3 separate regions of the Homo sapiens genome follow, and all the other regions are linked to region 2. Evidence: promoter capture Hi-C in 16 types of primary human blood cells and fetal thymus (Javierre and others, 2016). All regions are on one chromosome and are shown on one strand. Each heading gives the region's core, a stretch centred on a gene start or on the middle of the fragment in contact. The rest is flanking DNA. Distances are from core to core; before and after follow the strand shown. Region 1 holds the start of S100A9 (S100 calcium binding protein A9). Region 2 overlaps ATP8B2 (ATPase phospholipid transporting 8B2). Region 3 holds the start of ZBTB7B (zinc finger and BTB domain containing 7B).

The links. The method cuts DNA at HindIII sites, captures the fragments that hold promoters and counts their contacts. A CHiCAGO score of 5 or more calls a contact.
Region 1: a contact is called between the fragment with the promoter of S100A9 here and a fragment that was not itself captured in region 2, in 1 of 17 cell types (total B cells). The highest score is 5.4, in total B cells.
Region 3: the fragment with the promoter of ZBTB7B here is called in contact with a fragment that was not itself captured in region 2 in 1 of 17 cell types (non-activated CD4 T cells); the score reaches 5.0 in non-activated CD4 T cells.

What each region holds. Positions count from the first base shown.
Region 1 is chr1:153,356,376-153,359,901 of GRCh38, forward strand. S100A9 (S100 calcium binding protein A9) reads left to right here and starts at 1,479. Exons shown (of 3, transcript NM_002965.4): 1 at 1,479-1,506; 2 at 1,894-2,058. The coding sequence starts at 1,909. The HindIII fragment of the contact is 1,008 bases long and covers 624-1,631 here.
Region 2 is chr1:154,336,071-154,339,890 of GRCh38, forward strand. It overlaps ATP8B2 (ATPase phospholipid transporting 8B2), which reads left to right. Exons shown (of 28, transcript NM_001370597.1): 12 at 1,278-1,474. It also overlaps the pseudogene RNU7-57P. Among named protein-coding and RNA genes, the nearest start is that of ATP8B2, 12 kb to the left of the region's middle. The HindIII fragment of the contact is 731 bases long and covers 1,160-1,890 here.
Region 3 is chr1:155,001,004-155,004,583 of GRCh38, forward strand. It overlaps ZBTB7B (zinc finger and BTB domain containing 7B), which reads left to right and starts at 1,799. Exons shown (of 3, transcript NM_001256455.2): 1 at 1,799-1,940. RefSeq lists silencers at 78-297, 698-937, 1,048-1,237, 2,948-3,067. The HindIII fragment of the contact is 14,435 bases long and covers 1-3,580 here.

The DNA of each region.
Region 1 (3,526 bases), core at 229-2,728, 980 kb before region 2:
GCAGTCAGGAGGGGCTGGGGCAATAAAGGAAGGCTTCATGGAGACAGAACAAAATAACCAGTGCAGGTAGAAGAAGAGAACCATCTTTCCTGATAGAGAGAGGGGGCAGCAAGCAAGAGGGAGTCCCAGGGTGGATCATCCATACTGGCTTCCAGGGGTGACGGGAAAGGATGCCAGCAAGGACTTCAGCAAGGATCAATCAGCAAATCCGAGGGTGTCTCTCTTGCCAAGCCCCGGGCTGTGTGCATAGGAGAAGGAGAACATGAATGAGAACCTACCTTTGAGGATCTACAGCCAATTGTTGGACAGAGGCAAAATATGTATATAATTTTACTCCAGGAAAGCAAGTGTTGAGAGCCAGAAGTGGTATGAGAATCATAGTCAGGAAGACAGAAACTGTTTCCAAATGGGAAGCACAGAGCAGTCTCCTTGGAAGAGAGTGCATTAGAACTGAGCCGTGGGGGCGGGCAGGATATCACTGTGGAGTAGGGGAAGGGCACTCCTGGGGTGGCAAGGTGGGAGGTGGGCCCTGTGTTCCCACAGTGGGCAGGGAGGTAGTGAAAGGGAAGCTGGCCGGACAGGCAGGGCCATTCCAAGAGGGCTTTGTGCGCAGGGCTAAGCCAAGCTTTCTCCATAGGCAATGGGGAGCAACTGGAGGTTCGTAGCAGGAGAAGGACACATCTTGCCCACCAGGAGGCTAAGTAAAAACAGTTGTCTCCCAAGTTATAAGTTCCTGGAACCCTTGCTGGGAGCAGGATTTAGAAAAATGATGCTGAGAGATGCTAGAAACATATTCGCCCTGAGGCTCTCTCACTCAGACTGCAAGAGGAAGGTATCATCAGAATTGCCCTTAACCAGGAACCAGAATAGCTGGGTCCCCTTCCTGCCAAGTCAGCAACCAGCTATGTGACCTTGCTCAGGTCCATCTCCGGGTGTCAGTTTCTTCATCTACAATGCAAGAGGGTTGCCCACCTCTGAGAACCCTTCTAACCCCAAATCTCACCCTATGAATCTAAGAACACCAACCCCTCGCCATCCTAAGTATCACAGAGCCAGGCAAGCATGGGTGAGAGCTCAGACCATCCTTGTTGGACTAAAAGGAAGGGGCAGACTGCCCATGGGGGGCAGCCGAGAGGGTCAGGCCCCCATAGGTCCTCAGCCTGCTTCAACCTCAAAGGGGATGGGGGGCTGAGTGGTGCCAGAGGAGCAGCAGGCTCGCTCGGGGAGAGTAGGGCCTTAGGATAGAAGGGAAATGAACTAAACAACCAGCTTCCTCCCAAACCAGTTTCAGGCCAGGGCTGGGAATTTCACAAAAAAGCAGAAGGCGCTCTGTGAACATTTCCTGCCCCGCCCCAGCCCCCTTCCTGGCAGCATTACCACACTGCTCACCTGTGAAGCAATCTTCCGGAGACAGGGCCAAAGGGCCAAGTGCCCCAGTCAGGAGCTGCCTATAAATGCCGAGCCTGCACAGCTCTGGCAAACACTCTGTGTGGCTCCTCGGCTTTGGTAAGTGAGCTGCCAGCTTCCCCAGGCAGAAGCCTGCCTGCCGATTCCTTCTTTCCTTCCCTGACCCAACTTCCTTCCAAATCCTCCTCCTAGAAGCCCTCCTTGGTTGGCCCTGCCTACTTTAAAGCTTCTTTCACATTTTCTTAGGTCATGTTCCCCTGGGGCCTCCTGCCCTCAAATGCTTTGCTTTTTGGCACTCTGTAGATATTCTAAAAAATCATTTTGTACATGTGTGTGACAGGCCATCTCCCAGTTAAGTTGCAGCCTGTGCTTTCTTTTTATTTTGCACTTCCCCCACTATTTCTGTGAGTGCTTAGTAGGAAGTGTCAAAGAAGCTTGACAGCATTTTCTTCTAAGTGTCCCAACTCTTGGTTTTCCATTACACAGACAGAGTGCAAGACGATGACTTGCAAAATGTCGCAGCTGGAACGCAACATAGAGACCATCATCAACACCTTCCACCAATACTCTGTGAAGCTGGGGCACCCAGACACCCTGAACCAGGGGGAATTCAAAGAGCTGGTGCGAAAAGATCTGCAAAATTTTCTCAAGGTAGGGCTGGACTCTGGCAGGTCTGACCCAGCCTCACCGCAGTTTGGGTTGACAAGGGAGGATGGGAGTATGGGCTACAGCAATCAAGGGGAAGATTTGAGCTCCTGGAGCCCAGCCCCAAGACGCAGCGAGTGTCCTGTTATACAGGGCAGGTGCTCACAGTTACACAGGACGACAGGGTCAAGAAATTGCTCAATTGAACACCTGCTATTTGTCGGGCCCTGTTCTGGGCAGAGGGATGTAGTGGTAAATGGGGAGCCCACTATTCCAGTGGAGGGAGACACACAGTAAAGTTGTTGGCCAATAAAGAGCACAGATAAAGCCAAATGCCAATAAGTGCCTGGAAGAAAATGAGATAGAGTGCGCTGTGGGCAATGGGGCTGGGTGGGGTGGAGGTGACCAGTTAGGGTACATGAGAAGGGCCTCTTTGAGGAGGTAACATTTGAGCTGAGCCCCGAATGTTGGGGAGGGAAGCCCCTGAGGATGACACTTGGCACAAAGCTGAGGAGACCCTAAGCCTCAGGCGGGAACTTGGGGTGGAAGACTTGGGGGCTTTTCTAATCCTAAGGGTCTGCGGTGGAAAATGAATGCATAAAGAGCACATGGAGAGCACCTGCACAGCACTCAGGGAACTGGGAGGTTTTTCCCCCGCTCCAAAAATGATTAGGCAGTTCTAAGAAAAAGGCTGAGCACTTCCAACAGCCTTTTTGTTTTCTTTTCAAATTTGGGGAAAGTCGGGAAACAGAGGCCTGCATTAAGAAGGGTGGAACACATGGGTCTCAGTCTCAGTTCCAGTCCCGGAGCCAGACATCCTGGGGTAGGTCCCCAGCCCTCCCAGTGCCCCTCCCTCCGCCTTGGTAAGGTGGAGAATTGCAGCCTTCAGAGTTAGGGGCCCTGACAGCTCTCCATAGGTGGAGGCCTCAGGCAGGCAGGATGCTGGGTGGGGTAGGCAAGAAAGGGCCCAGCAGAGAGGCCGCATGGCAAAACTATCCTCCATGTGACCCCCTATGCCCGCTTCACCCCCCACCTGACATCCCCCACCAGAAGCAAAGCGATGCTGTGGGAAAGGAAGCAGAGCCTCATGGATGGGCTGCACAGGAGAGTGCTCGCATTGGCTGGGTACCCCACAGGTTCTGGGAGGGGACTTAGCGAGGTGACTCAGCCAGAGGGTGGCAGAGCTGGAACCAACCAGTGCTCTCTTGGACCCCGCCTGGGTCTGGGTCTTCCACCTCCCCTGATGTCTCTCCTTTTTTTTTTTTTTTTTTTTTTTTTGAGACAGAGTTTCGCTCTTATTGCCCAGGCTGGAGTGCAACGGCACAATCTCGGCTCACCACAACCTCCACCTCCTGGGTTCAAGCGATTCTCCTGCTTCAGCCTCCAGAATAGCTGGGATTACAGGCATGCACCACCATGCCTGGCTAATTTTGTTATTTTTTGTAGAGACAAGGTTTCTCCATGTTGGTCAGGC
Region 2 (3,820 bases), core at 275-2,774:
AGATAGTGAACATTACCGTGGCTTGGCATTTTTGTTGGCTTGTACCTAGCCCAGGTGAATAGATTATTTACAGTAAGTTTTCTGGTATGTTAAAAGTAGCTCATCCCCACTCTTACCAACTTTGAGGACTCTGGAAGGTTTCAAGGTGCCAGATTGAGAGCTAATCAACTATTTCAGTTTCTTCATCATATAGATGAAATAATGGTCAGACAGAAGGCCACATGATAATTGGTGACAGACTAGAACCTGTCACCAGTTCTGAGCTTTTTCCACTAGAGCAGTGGTGTCCAATATTTTGGCATCCCTGGGCCACATTGGAAGAAGAATTGTCTTGGGCCACACATAAAATACACTAACATTAACAATAGCTGATAAGCTTAGAAAAAAAAAATTGCAAAAAAAAATCTCATAAATTTTTTTTTTTTTTTTTTGAGACGGAGTCTCACTCTGTCACTAGGCTGGAGTGTAGTGCAATGGCATTATCTCGGCTCACTGCAACCTCTGCCTCTCGGGTTCACGTGATTCTCCTGCCTCAGCCTCCCTAGTAGCTGGGATTACAGGTGCCCGCCACCACACCCGGCTAATTTTTTTGTATTTTTAGTAGAGATGAGAGATGGGGTTTCACCATGTTGGCCAGACTGGTCTCGAACTCCTGACCTCATGATCTGCCCGCCTTGGCCTCCCAAAGTGCTGGGATTATAGGTGTGAGTCACTGCACCTGGCCTTTTTTTTTTTTTTTTTTGAGACAGGTTCTTGCTCTGTTGCCCAGGCTGGGATGCAGTGGCATGATCTTGGCTCACTGCAATGTCTGCCTCCCGGGTTCAAGCAATTCTCATGCCTTGGACTCCTGAGTAGCTGAGACTACAGGCAAGTGCCACCAGGACTGGCTAATTTTTTTAATGTTTTTAGTAGAGACGGGGTTTCACCGTGTTGGCCAGGCTGGTCTCAAACTCCTGACCTCAGGTGATCCATCCGCCTCAACCTCCCAAAATGCTGGGATTACAGGCTTGAGCCACTGCGCCCAGCCCATAATAGTTTTTTTTTTTTTTATAATTATTTTTCATTTAACATTCAGCTGTTACCAAAATCTCATAGTGTTTTAAGAAAGTTTATGAATCTGTGTTGGGCCACATGTGGCCCAGAGACCATGGGTTGGACAAGCTTGCACTAGAGCATCTGAGCTTTTGAGGGCTCAAGGGATGAATACATCACAGATGCACTTGGTTTTGAGGGCTTCCTACATGTCAGCCTCGCCTGTGCTTCTCATTCCTCCCCAGATTTTTGGATTCCTGGTTTGCATGGGGGTGATCCTGGCCATTGGCAATGCCATCTGGGAGCACGAGGTGGGGATGCGTTTCCAGGTCTACCTGCCGTGGGATGAGGCAGTGGACAGTGCCTTCTTCTCTGGCTTCCTCTCCTTCTGGTCCTACATCATCATCCTCAACACCGTTGTGCCCATTTCACTCTATGTCAGGTATGTGCCTTCTCTGACCTGGGGTCTCTCCAGGGAGTCAGGCGGTCCCATAGAACTTTTCTTTTCTATGAAGATGAAGTCCTTGAGAAGTAACGAGAAGTCCTCTTCTTCCTGTACTGTAAACATTTGATGTTATCTGTTTATCTTTGTGGGCAGAGCAAACTTTTTACCACAGTTTCCTGGTACTTGGGACTGTATTAGAGAAAAAAAAATATTGATTTATTCAGCACCTATTTATTACATGCCTACTGTGTACAAAGAAGTGTGCTAGGTGCCATCACAAATAAAAGATGAATTAGGAATGGATCTCCTTCCTTCTAGGAGCTTACGTCTAGTAAAGGAAGGAAAATCTAAACACATTATAAAACAAAATAGGAACCAGTGCTGTAGAATTCGACCTAGAGTCTTCTATGTGAAGCTTGGGGATACAGAGATGTATAAGGTGGCCTCTGCCTTTAGCAGCAGCAGATGGATAGGTCGAGGAGGGGAGATCTGGACAGTGTCAGACTGAGATACCATGTGGGAGGCACAGGGTGCCCGGGGACTGGGAGAGTGTCGCTCCCTAAGCAGGTAGGCAGAGAGGGAGAGATGGCATTTGCTCTGGGCTTTGAGTGGTGACTGGGCTGGATGAAGGTGGAGCCACAATGGAGAGGAGGCTGAGAGGGCTGGAAGCAAAGGTGTGGAGATGGGAGCCTGGGAATGGCCTATGGAAATAGTTGGCCAGGGTCTTGGGCCAAGAGCAAGAGCTGGAAACATAGCTTGCTCCTGATTGTGGAGGCTTTTGAATATTTGCCTGTGGACTTTGTATTTACTAACCATTAAAAGTTATTGAAAAGACTGGGCACGGTGGCTCACACCTGTAATCCCAGCACTTTGGGAAGCCAAGGTGGGCGGATAACGAGGTCAGGAATTCGAGACCAGCCTGGCCAACATGTTGAAACCCCGTCTCTACTAAAAATACAAAAATTAGCCAGGTGTGGTGGTGGTTGCCTGTAATCCCAGCTACTTGGGAGGCTAAGGTAGGAGAATCGCTTGAAACCGGAAGGTGGAGGTAGCAGTGAGCCAAGATCACGCCACTGCACTCTAGCCTGGGCAACGAGCGAAACTGTGTCTCAAAAAACAACGAAACAAACAAACAAACAAAAAAGTTTTTGAAGAAAGTCAAAAGAATGTATTCTGTATTCTAAAAATGCATTCTAAGTGTTACAGCTCTTTTAGAATTTGTCTAGCAGGTTTTCCAGTTTTCACTGGAACCCCTCCCCCACAAAAAGAAAAAAATGCATTCTAAAAAAAAACTAAAGAATGCTTTAGGAAGTATTGACTGGCAGTAGTGTACAGCATGAATAGGATCAAGGCAACATGTAGGATGTTTGAGGTAAAGAGAATGTTAGCAGGGACAGGCCAGTGAGAATGAAGGGGAGGATCGGAGGAAGACGAGGCAGGAGGAATGGCCAGGGGAAAGGAACTTTCTTGCTTAGTGCCTTGCACTTGAGATAAGGGAACCTGTGACATTTTTAAGGAAATGTTTTATGGAGGTGCTGAAAACTTGTCCTGTCTCCCATCTTTTGTTCATACAGATTCCCCAAATAGCCCTCAACTCTCTCCCAGCCCCCAATCTTACTGCTGGTGATAATAAATAGAAGATACAGCATTTCTGTGCTGAGAGAATATAGTTTAGGCTTTTCCAGGGTGTGAAGAGGAGAGTTGGGAGGTTCTGGGTTTAGTCCTGCCTCCTCACTGGCCATGTGACCTCAGGAAAATCCACGGTCACTCAGGGCCTCACTTGATCTTAGTTTTCCCACGTGAAACAGGAACAGGAGTACTTGTCTCACCTTTTAATAGGATGTCTTGATATAAGATATTGGCTTAGAAGATACATTTTAAACTTAAGTGACTGTACAGTTACTGGGTGGTAGCCTGCTCATTGTGACTGTTGCCACTCCCTTCTGCATTACTATTTAAATGCCTTTGTGCTTACAACCTAATTTTGTTTTCCCACCTATGGGCTTTGCTATCTGTGTTTTGTATCTCAGTTCACTTGAAGCCCTTGGGAGCAGCTAAAGCAGTTTTCTTTCTGAGTCTCATCAGGTCACAGTGTGTATGTTTCGGGAGGCTAAGAGGGGGTTGAAGAGCTGTGTGAGGAAAAGGCCCTTTGGAATGTGAAGACATTCCCATTTGCCTGGTAATGGGATCCTGATAGGTGCCTTAGTCAGGTGGGAAGCAGGGCTCTCGATAGGGCCCCATTGCTCGGCTGCACTGGACCTAAACATGGCCCTTTCTGGAAATGCTAACAGTGCATATGATTAGCAAAGAAGAGGATACGAACAGACCTGGAGATGTTAAAGG
Region 3 (3,580 bases), core at 549-3,048, 670 kb after region 2:
GAGATAATGTCTGGGGTGGGGGGCTGTTTGGTTTGGCCTGAGCCCTCAGGGGCGCCTCACACTTTCCGCCCCTGGCTGGGGCGCAGGGCAGCGGCCCCGAGGCTGAGTCACGGCCCGGCGCGGAGAGGGAGAGAGGGAGAAAGAGGGAGGGAGGGACCTGGACTCCGCCCCTCGTGCGCGGGGATCCCGGGTCAGCCCGGGTGAGGGCCAGGGCCCCCCTGGCGCCGCCCATTGTGGTCCAACAGGTTGAGCTGGTGTCCCGAGAAGCCACCTGCTGGAAAGGGAGGGAGGCCCCCTGCGGAGGGGGGTTGGGAGGGGAAAGCGAGTCCGACCCGGTTCGGCCTGGCTTGTCGCAGGGGAGCCAAACCTGGCCCTAGGTAGCCGGATTTGATTCCATTTGACACTAGTGGGAGGGGCCCTTTGGGGTACGCAGCTCCGCAGGCTCAGTCAGAAACATCCTTCACCCGCTACCTTTCTCAGTTGGGGGACTCCTAAGTATTTATCCCGGTCCTCCCCAAAACCTACACATACCACACATCCCAAAACATCCAGGCACCCCTCGCCACCTGGGTCTCTCAGCGAATTCATGTCAAGCTATCCCTCCTCGGTGGAGACTCAGTTTCTCCACTTAGGGAACCCGCGGGATGGAGGTGGGGAGCAAAAGCGTCGGCGCGCCCCCTCCCCCTTCGCAGACTGGGCCCCTCCCCTCCGACAATGCCAAGGCCGCAGCGGGCACTGGCGACAGCACAGAGGCTGCTTGCCTGGGGCGCCCTTCCCTCCCCGCGGGGCACCGTCACGCGTGGGGAGGGACGCAGGGCGCCCGCAGGCTCAACTCCCCGGCTCCCTCCGAGAGGGGGTGGGGCGTAGGGGCCGGAGCCGAAGGCCTGGTGGCTCCCCCTCCCCCTCCCTTCTAGGTCCCTGACCTGATTACAGCCCCTCACGGGACCCCCTCCCTCAAGACCCTAAGTCCCCAATTCACCCCCACCCAGCCTATCCCTAACCTCTCATACCCTTCCCTCCTGAGGTCCTGACCCTACAGAAGCCCCTCTTGAAGGAGAGGGAGCCCCTGTAGGGGGTGCTCGATTCCCTGGCCGCTGCGGACACTGCCCCCTCCCCCCTCCTCTCCAGGTTCCAGGCCAGCCCCTCGGCTCCGCCCCCTCCCTGGACGAACGCAAGGCGAGACCTACTGGAGATGAGCGGGTATTCAGGCCAATGAGCGGACAGGGCGGTGGCGTGCAGGGGGCGGGCAGAGCAGCAGCAAAGGGCTGGATGGGGGCCGGGGGCGGAGTTTGAGTTAAGGTGGACTGGGAGAGATAGGGGCAGGAGAAAGGGGGGGGAGAGAGGGACCGCGGCAGGTGAAGGGAGACAGAGAGAAGGAAAGAAGGAGGGAAAGGAGGAGGGTGGGAAAGGCTAGGAGAGCTAAGTAAGAGTTTGGAGAAGGGGGCAAAAAAGGAGGGAGGGACCCATCTGCGCTCTGCAGGGACTGGCTGGACGAAGGGGTTGAAGTTTATGTCCTTATTGGGCGGAGGGAGGGGGCCTGGGGGGGCGGGTGAAAAACCAGGAAGTGACAGAGGGTGTTTCTAAGTGTTGGGGGGGGGGAGTTTGGGGGGTGGCAGGGGCGGGGGGAGGGAGGGGAGGGATGGGGGGAAAGCAAGCTGGAGGACAGGTGAGACAGCAGGACAGGTGAGGCGGGCCCTGAGGGGGGGGCGGGTGGGAGCCAGGTGAATGTACGGCTCTTGGCGGCCGAGGGGGGGCGGGCGGCAGGAGGAGGCAGAGGGCGGCGGAGGAGGAGCCCCCCAGCAGCGAGCGGCGAGCAACTGACCGCGGCCTTCTGACCAGGACCGGAGCAGGGCCCCAAGCCCCCGGGCCTGGTGGGGGACGCGCTTCTTCCCACACTGTGAGCCTCAGCAGCTCCAGCCAGCGGACCCGACGGCTGAGAGGTGAGTGTACCCCACTTTTGTCTCCTGGCTCGGGGTTCACTAGGCTCGAGACTACTGCAGTGTCCTTCGTCCGTCCTGTAAGTGGGACCCCCAGATACACACGCATGCAGATCACATTCCCACCACTCCCCTTCCCTGTGCTTTCCCAACACCCCGGGTCTCTGGAATTGGTTTTAACTGAGATGAAAGACAGAGAAGGAACTGCGGATGCCCCCCAACCCTAGGCGGAGGGTCCCCAGAAAGTTTATCTGCACTTCTCCTGGGATCAGACAGACAGACGGCTTCGGGATGGAGAGGGGGTGAGGCGACGCTGAGCGTTCCCCCAGTCTCCTTCGTGACTTTAGGGGGAGACCCCAGACCGGACTGAGTTGAGGGAATGGAAACGCTGACGGACTCTAACTAGGACAACGCGCACCCCCCCCCCACCCCGCGCCCCCTGGCGCGGTGGATTGGCCCCAGGCCAGTTGCATGGGGGTTGGGGGGGCGCAGGAGGAGCCGCGGCTTGGGGGAAAGTTACCGGCTGGACTATTCGGTTTCTTGCGCTTCCAGAGCCGCGCTCTCTCCAGCGGTAGTGGGGCTCAGCAACAACCTCTGAACCGACATAGAACGACCGCTCTCTTCCCTGCCCCTCAATCCCACTCCCTTCCTTCAGGCTCCAGTCCCGCCGCTACCTTTTCCACGCCAGCTCATGACCACAGAACCCAAGAGCGAGGGCGGGTGACTAGGAAGAATTCTCCTACCTACTACCCGTCCCCCCACCGGCGCCGGCGCACCTGCCCCAGCCCAGAGTGGGGGTCGCTACTGTGTTGTTGTAGAACCTACAGAGTGCGCCTGGCAGAAGGCTGCCATTCAAAGGGGTGGGGGGCGCTGCTTTCAATTTCCAGCTTTCTCTCCCTCCTCCCACCCCATCCCAAGTAAGAGAGCGACGTGTCCCGGCCAGAGCGAGGTGGGGGCGGGAGTGGGGGGGCGGCGTGGGCAGCGGGTTGTGCCCGGACACGTGCCTGCCCAGGCGCCCCGGCCCTGCTGGTGTTTAGAGAGAGGGCGGGTCCCCTGCCCCCCGCCCCGCACAACCCCCACGTATCAAAGGGCGGCTGAGACATGGTGAGACCTCGGGGCGCCCTGGGGGGCAGGGGGGCGGGGAGCCTGGGTCCGGAGCAGGGGAGGGGCAGAGGCGCCGGTGCTAGCTGACCCACAGGAAACGAGCGCTGCTGACCTAGTTTGGGACACCGGAAGTGGGTGCTGGGGAGAGGGGGAGACCGGCAGGCTGTCCAGGCTTCCGGGCCAGGTGGAGGGTGTTCTTGAATTGACCCCCGCCCGAATGCCTTGGAGACCCCTAGCTGCAGCCGAGAATGGGAATGAGTCAGCGCAGCTATTCCCCCTTCCCCCAACTTATTCCTGGAGGAGGGAGACCGCTTATCAGGGACGGGGGAACCAGATTGGGCTGTGAGGGGTTAAAGCAGGATGGGAACTGTCTGGTCCCTAAGGGAGTATGTGTGAGTGTGGGGATGAGGCCTGGAGGATTATGGGGTTGCCTCCTGCTGCCCCACACACACCAACTGGTTTGGTCACCCCTGTACCCGCCTGGCACTGCTGGGAGAGCTGGCATGGAGTGGACATCAGGTTGGGGAGGAGAGAGTGGG